2 separate regions of the Homo sapiens genome follow, and region 1 is linked to region 2. Evidence: promoter capture Hi-C in human tissues and cell types (Jung and others, 2019). All regions are on one chromosome and are shown on one strand. The core of a region is centred on a gene start or on the middle of the fragment in contact, and the rest is flanking DNA. Distances in the headings are between cores, read along the strand shown.

Region 1 (7,494 bases), core at 4,559-7,058, 140 kb after region 2:
GGAAGGCTGTATGCATGCTCAAGGACATGTGTACACATAGGATGGATCAGATAGGGCCTGGCTGTCTACCTGTCCTTTATGAATGTGAAGACTTGAGTATGCAGAAAGTATAAACCAGGGCAGACTTGCAAGTTGTCTGAACTTTGATTACATTCCTTTTTTATTTTGTTATTTTTGAGCTAGGGTCTTGCCCTGTTACACAGGCTGGAGTGCAGTGGCACCAACACGGCTCAGGGTCCCCACTACCTCCTGGGCTCAGGCTATCCTCCCACCTCTGCCTCCTGAGTAGCTGTAACTACAAGTACACATCACCATGCCTGGCTAATTTTCAATTTTATTTTTTGTAGAGACAAGGAATCACTGCTGGCAGTGGTGGCTCAAGCCTGTAATCCCAGCATTTAGGGAAGCAGAGGTGGGAGGATAGCTTGAGCCCAGGAGTTTGAGACCTGCCTGGGTGACAGCAAGACCCCATTCTCAAATATAGAAAAATAAATAAATAAATAAATAAATAAATAAATAAATAAATAAAAGAGATAGGGTCTCACTATGTTGCCCAGGGTGGTCTTAAACTGCTAGTCTCAAGTGATCCTCTTGCTTTGGCCTCCTAAAGTGCTGGGATTACAGGGTGTGAGCCACCATGCCCAGCCTTGATTACATTCCTTAAACACACAGATCTGTTGGCAAAGAGCAGAAGGCTTACTGGCTCAATACGTTTATGTGCAACCTCTGATCAATTTTTGGCTGATCATTAAGCTATGCTAATCCAGGAGTGACTCATGGGAAGCCAGATTTAAAAATTAAACAAAAATAAATTTTAAAAAGGAACCTGAACAGAAACAACAGGAGCTGCACACTGTTGTGAGATAGATTCTACAGAATTTATCCAGGCAAGTCATTCAGCAAATCAAAAAAGTAGCAACAGCAACTAACCCTGGAGAGGAGATGAATCCAGAGTTACTACAATATATTATCTAAAATGTCCAGTTAAAGAAATGACATGCAAAAAACCAGGAAAGTGTGACCACACACAGAAAGAAAAACAATGGAAACTGTTTCTGATGGGACAGATGTTAGATATGGTGGAGCAAAGACTTCAAAATAACTAGTATAGATATGTTTAAATAAATAAAGAAAACAATATTTAAGAACTAAAGGAAAGCATAACAATAATAAATAATCAAGTAGGGAATACAAATCAAGAGATGAAGATTATTTTTAAAATGGAATAGAAATTCTGAAGTTGAAAAGTACAGTAATTAAAATAAGAAATTCATTACAGGGTTTCAATAGCAGAGTTCAGCTGGCAGAATAAAACAAATGAGTGAAATCAATGATGGATCAAGAATTATAAGGAATTACAGAAAAAACAATGAAGAAAAAAGAAGAGTCTCAGAGATTGAGGAACATCATCAAGTGACCCAGTGTCAGTGTCCCAGAAGTAGAGAAAAGAAAAAAAAGTGAAGAAAATATATTTAAGAAATAATGGCTGAAAAGAACTAAAATATATATAGTAAAAGGCATCTGTATCAGTCTGCTCAGGTGACCATAATAAAATACCATAGACTAGGTGGTCTAAACAATAGATATTTATTTCTCACAGTTCTGGAGGCTGGGAATTATAAGATTAACGTGTTGGCTGACTTGGTTTCTGGCAAGGGCCCTCCTCCTGGTCGATAGACAGCAACTTATGGACAGGGTCCTTACATGCCAGTGAGAAAGCTCTGGTCTCTCTTCCTCTTTTTATAAGAACACTAATCCCATCATGGGGGTTCCACCCTCATGATCTAATCTAAACCTAATTACCTTTCAAAGGTCCCACCTCCACATGCTATCACATCCAGGGCTAGGGTTTCAATATATGAATTTTGGGGGGAGACAAACATTCAGTCCATAACAGTGTCCAACAAATGAATATAAATGGTGCAGTAGAAAATATTTACATAGTACAACAAAGGCAGTGAAAGAGAAACATAGAAACAAAAAATGCATGATATATATAGACACAAATAGCAAAATAGCAGAAATCAATACAAATAAGATTTCAACAAATAAGACGAAAGTAAAATCATGGAAAAAATATATATTAGGATGGCCAAAATCTGAAAAGCTGACAATACCAATTGCTGGTGAGAATGCAACAGAAATTCTCATTCATTGCTAGTGGGAATGCCAAATGGTACAAACACTTTGGCAGTTTCTTGCAAAACTAAGGATACCATAGAATCCAGCAGTAGTGCACCTGGGTATTTACCGAACTGATTTGAAAACTGCTGTTCATACAAAACACCACACATAAATATTTACAATTATTTTATTTATAATCACCAAAACTGGGAGTAATCAAGACGAAGAAGCCTGTGACTAGCCAGCCACTGCACTCCAGCCTGGACAACATAGCAAGACCCTTGTCTAAAACAAAACAAAACCCTTAAACAAACTACAGCTGGCAAACAAATATCCTGGTTAATGATTAAAAAAAATACACATCTCCATGACTAAATGGACTAATATAAATATTTCATAGAAAAGACATCAAATTCCAGATAAAACTTGAGTGTATTCAATCTAAATAAGTGAAATAAGTTTATTTCCTTACTTCTCATTTGGATTATTTGCTTCTCAAAGACAGAATTGTTCCTTGCAAGAAACAAATTTATACATACAATAGTTCTTTATTTAATTATTGTTTTATTGATTTCAAAGATTTAGCCAACATTGATGAGGACGAAATGCTATAGTTTATTGAGGCTAAATCAGTGTAGCCCAGGTTGGAAGTGCAGTCTCAGATGTCTTCTAATTGGAAATGTTGCAAGTTATATTATTGTTCAAAAATACTTACTCCCTTTCTTTAACTTCATGGGAAGAATGTTCTTCCCCCTACTGGTTGATCTTGGGCTTGGCCTTCTGTGACTTCCTTTGACCTCAGGCCGAATGTGCTTGCATTCTATACCCTCGCATTAGTATAATGCAGCATAGCCTATGGTTAAACAGGCTTTCAGGCAGGCTTCTGTGCTAGCAGTTTTCACCTATATTACCGTGAACCATAGAAATGGCGGATATGGCCAGATGCGGTGGCTCATGCCTGTAATCCCAGCACTTTGGAAGGCCAAGGCGGGCAGATCACGAGGTCAGGAGTTCGAGACCAGCCTGGCCAATATGGTGAAACCCTGTCTCTACTAAAAATACAAAAACTAGCCAGGCGTGGTGGCGCGCTCCTGTAGTCCCAGCTACTTGGGCGGCTGAGGCAGAAGAATCGCTTAAACTCGGGAGGCGGAGGTTGCAGTGAGCTGAGATTGCGCCACTGCATTCCAGTCTGGGCGACAGAGTGAGACTCCGTCTCAAGAAAAAAAAAAAAAAAAAAAAAAGAAATTGTGGGATATTTGACTTTTTACTCTCCAAAACCCCTGCATTTTTATATGATTCATTCAATCCTCATCTTACCTTGCTGCCGCCCCAGCCCAAGGCCCTGAGCAGAGGGGAGCGATGGCACCAGCAGCAGCCACACGCTCGCGCCTACTGCTAGCATCCTTGCAGCGCAACCCCCGCCCGCACCGCCTGCGGGAAGCTGGGGGTCTTGGAGCCTCGGTCTCCAGCCTTCTCCTGACTTTGGCTCCGTGCCACCCGCCAGGCTCACCCCCAACCACTACTCCTCCCACCCACCATTCCCAGTCCCTCCTCCCTGCCGGTTTCTCCTGGACATCCCTGGCCTGCTCCAGCAGCGCCGCCAGCTTCAACCTCACGCCCTTAGTTTTCACTTCTTATTTAATAGCAGAAGCACCGAACAAAATTCCCGAATAAAATTCCTCATTGGCCTCTGACACTAGACTACAAACATCAGGTGACTCAATATTGTGGGGGGAATTGGGCCAACTTGGCTTAAATTAATCCAAGCTTTGCTATAATATGACCTAAATCCCTTCATTTATAAAATGTAGATAAGGAAGAATTGGTATTGAATAAACATCTGGCACATCATTCTCGATATTACTACTGTATTACTATTCTAATAAAAATTATAAATTGTCACTTATTCAACAAAGATTTATCCAACCTCTCTTTTGTGCCTGAGTTTAAATTTCTCTTTCTGGAAAAGGAGACCCCTGGAATTCAGGGAATATGGAAGGTTACACCTACAGGTCTGTGATTGGCATATTGGAAGGGCCCACGAGACTTTGCCAATTGTAGAGTCTACCTCACCAGGGGTTAAGACGACTTGATTAGAATACATTTCTATACAGTTATGGCATCTGTGCTATTTCTAGCTTCCCCCTCTTTTTATCATTTCTATTACAGGTTCTAACATGCAACTTTAAAAATGGTCTCTCAAGCTCATGGCCTTCAAGCTTGGAATTAGGTTGGTAGGGCAGTATGTGTCTCTGCTTGCTAGCAGTAAAAAATGTTTGAATGGGAGATCTTTCCATGGAAAGGGTTTTTATAACTCCGTTACAAAGAGCAGCCTAACAATGCAGGGGAATGTCAAGTTTTTTCAAATGTTTTACAAGGATGTTGGGGAAGCGGATGGTCTCTCCAACTCTGTCTCCATGTTCTATGTATTGACTTGCAAAGAGAGCACACTGTGTTATTTTTAGTCAAGATAAGCAATGAAAAAATGCATTGGTGCATACCTTGCCTTCCATATTTTTGAACTTAAATTCATTTCATACTGCCTTCTCTTTGAACAAAGAATTTACCAAGATAACCAGTATGTCGCGAGTCTTCCTGCAGTGCACCTCTTTCACAACCTTGGCTCCCATTTCTCCTGGCACACAGACTTTTTTCTCGAAGCATACTTGTTCCACTTGTGATTCTTCCCTGGCAAACAGTCCTGCCTTAAATTCAACCTATCTCTTGGATATCTTTGTGGAATTCTTGCTGTCTTATACCTGATTGGATTGAACAGGTTAGTGTTTGATAGTTTATTTGTTTTAGCATATCAAATTTTTTTAAGGGGACAGAGTTAAAAATTGGCCTCCCTTAGTACCATCAAGATGAATCCACTCTTCCTCCATTTTATTGCATAAAAATGTAATGTAATACTATTATAGACCCTTGTGTGTATGAGTGCTTCCTCCATCTCTTGAGGGTAGAGACCCGGTCTAGTTCCCCTCCTTATCCTCAGCAGCTAGCCCTGGGCCTGACACCTAGGAGGCACTTGGTAAATGTCTTTTGAATAAATGAATGAATAGTGATCAGTAAATTAATGGAAAGCTTTTAACCAAGGGATGTGCACGGAGGCTCAGCATGACTGTGTTTACTATCTGTAGGGCTAGCGGAGGTAGAGGATAAAAAGCTGGAGATAATTGGGCAGCCTTTGGGAACTGATGGTGCTACATAGGGAAGATCTCTTGGAAGGGAAGGAAGATAGTGAAAGATGGTTAAACGGGGAAAGAGGTTAAAGGGGAAGGGGAATAGAAAGGGTGAGTGCAAAAAGAAACACCACCTGTCAGACTGGGCTCTTTTCCTTTCCCTCTCCTCAGCTCCCACAGACTTCCTTCGGGCCCCTTTTTTTCAAAATGTAATTTATTTTATTTAACAATCTAGGAAGTTCACAGCCACCAGCAGTTCTAGTGCAATTTCAGGTGTGATTGGGAATTCGGGAATCTCAGTGGAGCTGTTAGTGTAGCGAACCTTGTAAGTAAAATACATGCATACTTTTGATAGCACATACGAAGGTATCTCTCTAAAATTGACCTCATTGGTTTCATTCTCGGCAAATTGACCAGGGCTGTTCAACATGGCTTTTATCATGCCTGATATTAATGCATGTTCTCTTTTTACAATAAATTCATGGCCATCAGATGGTATCAATTTGACATACATGGCATCTCAGGGCCTTCACAGCCACCATAGGTTTTCTCCTCTCCATTCATTTTGTTCTTATAAAATGCTACTTTGCTTCCCCTGGAACTTTAGTAGTTTCCTGGAGCTCTGCTTCTGCCTCAGTCAGAGTCTCACTCATCAGCCCTGCAGCCACTGCAGCCTGGTCCCCACGCACCCCCATAGCCCCTGTTCCAGGGCCATTGCCCCTCTTTGGGTCCCTTTTGTAGTTCTTCTCCACTTGCTCCAATTCTGATCAGAAGAGTTGCTGTGCAGGATCAAGAATTGTAAGCAGGTGGAAAACAGCAACTGAATATAAAGTTTAGGAATTCACTAAGCCAAGAAGTTTGAAGATAGGTTGAAATACCAGGCTGTGGTATAATGTTTCACTCTTGAAGAGGTGGGCCTTCCAAGTGACTACTCGTATTTCCCCTATGAAATGTGATGTTCTCCATGGAAACAGCCCATGAACAGCCCAGTGTTCCATTTTTCCAAGGTCTGCCAGCATTGCTGCTGGGCTGACTTGGAGGGTTGGCTGGGTTAGACTAAGGTTAAGCCAAGATCTTTTCAAAGTAATTGGCATTTGGAAGTAACTACTGTACATTGCCAAAAGAAGAGATGATGATGACAAAGAGCTGTGACCTTAAAGGAATGTGACCAGGCTTTGACTGATTCTTTCTTGTCAAAATAGCCAAAAGAATGTCTGATCAAGGGTCATGTTGAAAGGAAAATTTCAATTTGCCTCATTCTTTTTTTTTAAACATAGGTTTTTTTAGGACGCAGGGAATAAACATTGTTTGGAATACAGGTTTTCTTCTTGTTTAATTATCAAAATATTTTTAGGATATCTGAAATGCCCTCTGAAATCTGACAGTTAATATTTAAAGTATAATTTTGACTCACTTAAATAAGAAACTTGTCTGCTGGGCAAAATGAGAAATTTTGAGCTCTTCACTTGGGTTCAGGGTGGTGCCATCTGTATCTCTGTACCCAAGTGCTCTGTGTATAGTGGGAGCTCAGTAAACATTTGGTGCCTGAGTGAAAAAGTTGAAATTCAATAGCATTATACAATCCTGATCTGCTGTTTCAGCTGGAAGCAGCTAGTTAGTTATGCAGCTCATTGGCCCTCAGCATTTTGACTTCTTTTGCTGTAGAAGCAGATAGAGTAAGAAGCTAGGCATACCTTTATATCACCTATTTTCAAACCTCATCATTAACAATAAATTTATTTTATTAGAAATGTGTGTGCTTGTAGAAAAAGCTTGCAGTGTAACAAAACTAGCTTTCTAAAAATGAATGATTCTATCTTTTGTAATCAGTACTTCATGCAGTTGTAGTCACTGCAAATGGGCAAGCAGATAGCTCCAAGATTCTGTAAAGCCACTATGATTTGAACTATACTCATAATAATATAGTTCTGCATTTTTCCTCATTGCAGTTATATGATTTTAAAAATTATACAACATAAAAATGCAGAAAGAAATGAAAACGCATAGTTGCCACTATTAGTATATTCCTAGGGTATTTTTGGTGTAAGAATGTGTGATAATCATAATTCTAAGCTAGCCCTCCATGATCTCTACCCTCTAGTTATTCCTGTGATTATGTTGTTACTTGGCAAAAAGAATTTTACAGAGGTAATCAAGTTACTGATCAGTTGACCCTACGATAAGGAGA
Region 2 (7,009 bases), core at 3,109-5,608:
GAAGAAACAATGATCTTTTCTAAAGAAATAATAATTGGTGATTTGTTGATACTTACAGTTTATGTTTGGAATAGTCTCATTTATGGGTATGCTGAAAACAATGCAACAATTTTCTATTAATCCAGTTCTGATCTTCATACTCTTAGCAGTTTTAGAAGAGCTGAGAACAGTGACCTGCTTTTTCAACCATTATATTTCTGAGACATGACTAATTTGAAGCTGAGCAAATTGCACATAATGGGATTCAAGTTCATGATTTTTAGTCTGCACTCTCTTTTCAGGGTACATGGTCTCCTTCCCTCCCTGCTTCTACCACCACCCCCAAAGCTGCCTTTTCAGGAGCTAAATTCACCCAACATGAAATCAAAAGAGAATTATTTTTAAGTTTTCTGCAGGCTTATTTTTAAGGAGGATAAAGTTATATTTTTAAAAATATTTATCTTTTCCTTCAGGTACTACCGCATTTTTAAATAATTTCTAAATATTTAGAATGTATTTAGATGTATTTAGAATAGTAGATGTATCAGATGTATGGTTTCATAGTGGCTCAAAGTTTTTAAAAAAGCATTATATAAATCAGTGAATTTATAAATACCCTAAGTTCTACTATGTAAGATGTTGCTTTCAGAGCCTTTTTGCAAAATCCCATTAAAGGTTTAGCTTACAGACACTGGTGCCAAAAAAAAAAAAAAAAAAAAAAAAAAAAGCAAGCAAAAAAATGTGTTTTTTTTTGTTTTTTTTTTTTTTTGGTAAGAAGGATGTTGAAATAGGAGAATATTTAAGCTGGCTAAACCAAAGCCAATTCCTGGAGGCTAGTTGCTTTTATAGTGAATGTTTAAATTTTCTCCATCAAATCTAGAAGGCTACAACGAAACAACAGCCTAAATGTCATGTACAATTCTCTAAGTACTGAAAGAGTTACACAATTTTAGAACCGAAAGGGACCTTAAACTCCTTCCTCTACCAATGAGGAGCCTGAAGCCTGCTAGTTAACTCACTTGCCTGGTCACTCTGGGGTTCACGGATTGTTATTGTTTGGTGGGGTGGTTGTTTTTGTGCTGTATATTTGTGTGTGTGGTGTATGCAGTACTCACACCCTTACAAACAAGAGCTTTGCCATTTATATTCTCCCCTTCCTAAGTTGCTCTTCCTAAGTTTACTTTCATCAGCAAAAAGAGTGATCAAAAAGAAAAATATATTCTGGCCAGTTCAAAGGGGACATTTCTTTTTCTCACTTGGCCTACTGCAGATATATTAGAGAGACACTTCACACCCAGGACAACTGACTTTTTAAGTGGCAATAACAATGAGCAGCGGAGGAGTTCTCTTCTCACTCGAGAGAGCAGAGGAGGTTTCTGAACTTTACCTTGACTTCCAGCCTACAAACTGTTCCTTCAACTACTGTCTCCGCTTGCCCACTTTGTTGCTATTCTTTCCTTAGTTTCCTTTGTTTTCCAGCTTAGGGAAGTTTGGTGGGAAAATTTTTCACTTACATTTTGTTGATATTTATTTCCCATATTTGGGTCCTACCCAAATTTTAGATTTAAGAGCAAAAAAAAATTACTGTTTAAGTGAAAGAGGAAAGGCTAAGTCACTGTTCAACATGGGCTAGATCTGATCTGAATTGGAGACACAGCCTTTGCAATTGAGGAAGGAGAGGTAAGCAGTAAACTTATACAGTTTCCTCCAAGAAGTGTTATACATAGATATTTTTCAAGGAAATTGGAATAAAGCAGTTTATTAATTGAGGGGAAGCTAGTTACAGTTAGCACCTGCCGCGGACTTTTTGAGGTTGTCGTCATTAACCAAATTCTTCGGGAAAAACAATCTTTGGCACCACTTACTCCAGACAAACCCTGTTTGGAACAGACAAGTGTTCTGACCCTATAGTCGCTCCAATGTCCACCAGCCACTCACGAGTGCCCTTAGGGCTTCTCCTTGGTGGTAGCATCCCAGAAATCCTACTAGTTTCAGAAGTGCCCTAGGAAGCCTACTTCTTGGATAATGGGCTCTGTCTGCAAAGCTAGGAGATCAGCCTAGAAAAAGAAACACACCAACAAACACCAGGAAACTATGTGTAATGGTTTGCTGCTTGTGCAAAAACCTCAAAGAGGATGAAGGTCAGACAGGGATAATAGGCCAATTTAATTCTGAAAGCACAAGGTGCAAGAAATTTTAATTATGGTCTGCCACTGAAATCACACAAGATCCAATGGCATCTAACTGCAACTGCTCATCAAGGGAGACAAGAGGTGTAATTGTAACCGCTGCATAATCACTGTGAGGGCACAGGGAAGGCTGCCTTCAGCTCCCAGCAGAGAAGGTATTAAGAGCCTCGAAAAATCCAATACGGGGAAACGAGATTGCATGTAGCCAAACAGAAGCTCCTAACACAAAAGCCAACCCGTGTGTGTGTGTGCGCGCGTGTGTGTGTGTGTGTGTGTGTGTGTTGAGGGTGAGGGTTCCAGAAAGAAAATGTGAAGCTGTTTGGCCCACACTGGGGATAAGAGATTGTTTGAAAACTCTGAACCCTTTTCTGTTTTGTGGATAAATGCACACAGAGAAAAGAGCACTGTCTCCTTTAGGTATTTCTCTCCTTGATGAAGCTTCACCCACTCTCCTTTGTTTAAGACAATTGGCTTGGATGTTACCGTGATTTACAGTACCAAACTCCCTTTAATTTGTTCCCATCAAACCCAAGTCTGGAGACAAAACGCCAAGCACACGACTGGAGGTGCCCAAGCCTGTGCAGCTCTGGCAGCGACGCCGCCGGCGCCCCCGGGCGTTTTCCCCGCACCCCACATCGCGTGGGCGCCCGTAAAGGCACGCGCGGAGAAAGCCCCTCCGTGGACTCCCCACTCCGCAAAGTTTAACAAAGCCGTGAAGTAAGGAAACCGAACCTCCCGTCCGCGCCCGCTGCAAAGTTGGCATTGAAGTTTGTGCCGGGATGTCCCAAATCTTGAGGGGGCGGGGGGCGCGAGTGTGCAGAGAGGCGGGAGGATGGATGCAGATGGGGAGACAGTGAGGGGAAGGGAGTTTTTCCGAGTGGACGGTCCGTGAGGCGGTTTTCTTCACCCGGAAGCCTGTTTGACTCAGAGAGGTCCGGGAGGTGCACGCCAGGGGAGGTCTCCCGGGGCGGGCGCTGTCGCCGAGGAGGCCGGCGAGCTGTCACCTGCGGGGGGCTGTGGTGGGAGCTGAGGGCGCTCTCCTAAGCGCCAAAAGAGGACGGGGACATTCACAGTCACCGGCTCTCGGGGCTCTAAGTAGTGGGGGAAGGGATATTCACGAGTGGGCAGGAGGCCAAAAGCAACACCTTTCGGATACGCTTTTCCCCTCCGACCTCTCCAACTTCCCGCGGCGCTGGTCAAGGACTCCCTCCCACCCCACCCCATCCCACCCAACCTCCCGGCCGACAATTCGGACCTGTCCACGGCAGAGCGTGGGGTGGAGTGCGGCGGGAAAGCAGAGGGCGCGAAGGTCGGGACCCCAAATTGCAAACCCTCAGCCCCTAGCAAAGACGACCAAATGCATTTACAACCGTGCAAGTATCTCAGCCTTGTAACAGAGCTCCGGGTTTGCGCCGGGCACAGTTCCCCGACTCTTCTGTTGTTCCTAATAAAGTCGATTACGTTGCCCTCCCGGAGCTGATTGGAAGGGAACCGAGAGGAAAAGGGGGGGAACGCGGGAAAAAGCGGGGGGGGGGGGGGGCGAGCAATCAACTTTGTAACCCAGCGCTTCCTCGCGCGATCCGTCGCCATGCTTAAGATTCCCACCCCCGCCGCCCCCCTCTTGCCTTTCAAGTGGATACTGAAACTAGGCCAAAACTTTTTCCCCTCCTTTTCTCTTAGCCACTAGACTGGATTGTGCCCCACGGAGCCCCATGGAGCTCTGCTTTCTTAAGCACAATAGCCGGACTAATTAGATCATAGAAGCAAGGCAGTGATACTGTAACAAGTAGCCCAAGAGGCAAAGAGGGAAGGGGCCCGAAAAGACAGAAAGGGGGAAAAGTTTGCAGCTCTCCGCACTTACCAATCAAGCCTCCCACCAGAAAGGCGATGATTTGGAACACGAGCAGAATCCCACCAACAATGCACAGCTTCTTGGTGCTCATGTTTTCTATAATTGCCCCAGCCATTTTTGCGCCCCCCCTTTTTCTTTTCTCCTTGAAATAAATGTTTTAGGGTGAGCTTTTTGCTCCCTCCTCTCACACACTCCCTCCTTCCTCGCCTCCTTTCTGGGCGCTGCAAAACTTCAGAGGTGCTGGAGCGCGGCGAGGATGGGACCGGGACGGAAGGCGCCCGCACGGATTCCCCCGGCGCAGCCGGCTCGGGTTCCCCCAATGCCCGGAGCTGTGATTGTGGCCGCTCCGCCGCCTGTGGACGCTTAAAGGAGCAGGGAAGCGGATCACATGACGCCGCCTCCCTCCCTTTCTTCCTCCCTCCCTCTCGCGCTTCCTCCCTCCCTCCCTCCCTCTCTTCCTCTACCCCTTGCCCACCAGTTCGGGGCTCAGAGCTCTGGCGGGTGCTGGCGCCTGGCTCCCGAGTCTGGCCTGCAACCTGTCTCTCCAAGGTCTGATGCCATTTAGGGGTTGCTGTTGATGTTAAGCGGGTTCCCCCTGCCCAGCTTCTCACAGGTTTCCTTTTCTGGTTTCCGAAGTGCGAGATTTAAATCACCGGTGGACCGCCTTGCAGACCTTTAACTTACGCGTTGACTTTAGGAAATGGTCCCCACCCCACCCCCAACTGCTAGAACTCTCTTTAGGAAAGAGGAGGAGAATTTTTTTTAAAAGGACCCAATAGATGCCTAAGTCAAAACACAGAGATGCGGAATAAAGTCTCAGCTCGACTTCTTTCTACCAGATTCCCAGCCTCGGTTATTGGGCACATACCCAGCTAAATTCCCCACGGCGCCCCTTGAGGAAACTTGCTCTCCAGCCAAATCAGACCACTGTTCGTTACTCCAGCACATGTGCTTCCACAGCCTTAACCCTGGTTATTGCCTTAAAGAGAACATGTTCTACTCCATCAATGTTAAACCTGATCCAAAACCAACTAGTGTTAAAAAATCTTTCTAATTTTCCACACCACCTCCATGCAGTATCTCTGGGAACTGAGCCCCTACAATCCTGTATTTACATTTTTACCTCCTATTGTAAGGATTTGTGTACACGTTTGTCTCCACCACTGAGCTGTAAACTCCTGGGGAATAGGGACCAAGTTTTTTTTGTTCTTTGTACCCCCCATGGTGCCTAACAAAATGCTAGCTCTAGTAGGTGCCCCATAATCTTTTGTGGAATGAATAAGTGAATGTGAAAGCAAGCCCACAGTTTGTATTTCAAAGGTCTAAAGAGATCTTAGTTGGTTTAGAGGGTACCTATATTAAGTTACAATGTTTGTTGTCTCTTTGTGAGAAATCATATATTTATATTTATACTTAACTTCCATAAAAAGAGGGGCGGGGCTCCCGATAGAGATTTCCTGCTCTATCAAGCCTAAATTTCTGGGCCTGGTTTTTCCATGTTTCATAAACTGGCCGCTTGGCCAGTACAACTCACCTTACTCAATAGACCCTTGGTTTGGTAAATACCCCACCCTGCTCCCCAAACGTGCAGTTTCTACCACCACCACCCACACATCTTGTTTCTTGTCCCTCCCATCCTTACACACCCTCTTCATGCCAAGAGACTATTTTTCCCAGTCCTCTCTCCTCCTCTACTCTGTTCCTGAATTTTCATTGCCCTTATAAAAGATGTCATGCAGGTTACACTTAATAGAAGCATTCATTTCTAATCTCCAAATAGAACAGAGACTTGTCAAGGACAAGCACCAAACTTTATGCATACAAAACTCCATCTCTTCAACATCTAATAGTTCTTAACAGTTCTGAGGATATACACATCATTATGTGTCACATAAGGATGTTTCAGTCAACAACAGACCGTGTGTGTGACAGTAGTCCTATAAGGTTATAATACCATATTCTTACAACACCTTTTCTATAGATATGTTTAGATACACAGAGTGCTTACTATTGCATTACAGTTGTCTACAGTGTTCAGTACAGTAACATGCCAGACAGGTTTGTAGTCTAGGAGCAATCAGCTACACGGTGTAGCCTAGGTCTGTAGTAGGCTATGCTACCTAGGTTTATGTAAGTGCCCTCTATGACATTTGCACAATGACAAATCACCTAACAACACATTCTCAGAAGGTATTCCCATCATTAAGCAATGCATGACTGTGGTTGCTGTTTATCTATTCTCTCATTCAACTCTTTATCCAAGTCACTTATTGAGCCTTTAACATGTTCCAGGCTTTCTTTCTTAAGCACTCAAGGATACCAAGATGTCAAAGTACTTGCACCTGCCCCAGAGGAACCCCCCCCCAGTCCAAATGTTATTCACTGAATAGTAATTAATTACCTCTACTTTGGCAAACACCAGGTACTATCAGAAAGGATGAAGTAGACAGAATTGTTGTCCTTCCAATGTCCTTCAGTTCAAAGTACTCAGATACCTTGGGGTATCATGTTCTGAGCCCAGCACTCCTAAGGGCCCATTTATCTTTCCTAAAAGTCATTTGTTTTCTCATAAATACACTTCTTCTCCTATTAAGATAGAATATAAGCTCCAAATTCTATTAACAACTGCCTCCTTGAGTGGTTATGAATGCCCACATACATTTGATATATGTGAACAAAAATTTGTCTTTTGCCTTGCTAATCTGTCTTTTGTCAGTTTAGTCCACAGACCCCCAAGCACTATGCATAAGAGGGTAGAGAAAAAATGGTGGGTTTTTTGTTTATTTATTTGTTTGTTTGTTTTTGAGACAGAGTCTCATTCTGTCGCCCAGTCTGCAGTGCAGTGACACGATCTTGGCTCACTGCAACCTCTGCCTCCTGAGCTCAAGCAATTCTCCTGCCTCAGCCTCCTGTGTAGCTGGGATTACAGGTGCCCACCACCACATCTAGCTAATTTTTGTATTTTTAGTAGAAATGGGGTTTCGCCATG

Evidence for each region. Contacts are between HindIII fragments. The study calls those that stand out against the background at their distance.
Region 1: a fragment that was not itself captured here is called in contact with the fragment with the promoter of WLS in region 2 in 1 of the 25 tissues and cell types used here (H1 embryonic stem cells).

What each region holds. Positions count from the first base shown.
Region 1 is chr1:68,369,793-68,377,286 of GRCh38, forward strand. It overlaps the pseudogene ELOCP18. Among named protein-coding and RNA genes, the nearest start is that of RPE65, 76 kb to the right of the region's middle. The HindIII fragment of the contact is 3,383 bases long and covers 4,118-7,494 here.
Region 2 is chr1:68,228,165-68,235,173 of GRCh38, forward strand. WLS (Wnt ligand secretion mediator) reads right to left here and starts at 4,359. Exons shown (of 12, transcript NM_024911.7): 1 at 4,030-4,359. The coding sequence starts at 4,135. The HindIII fragment of the contact is 13,703 bases long and covers 1,145-7,009 here.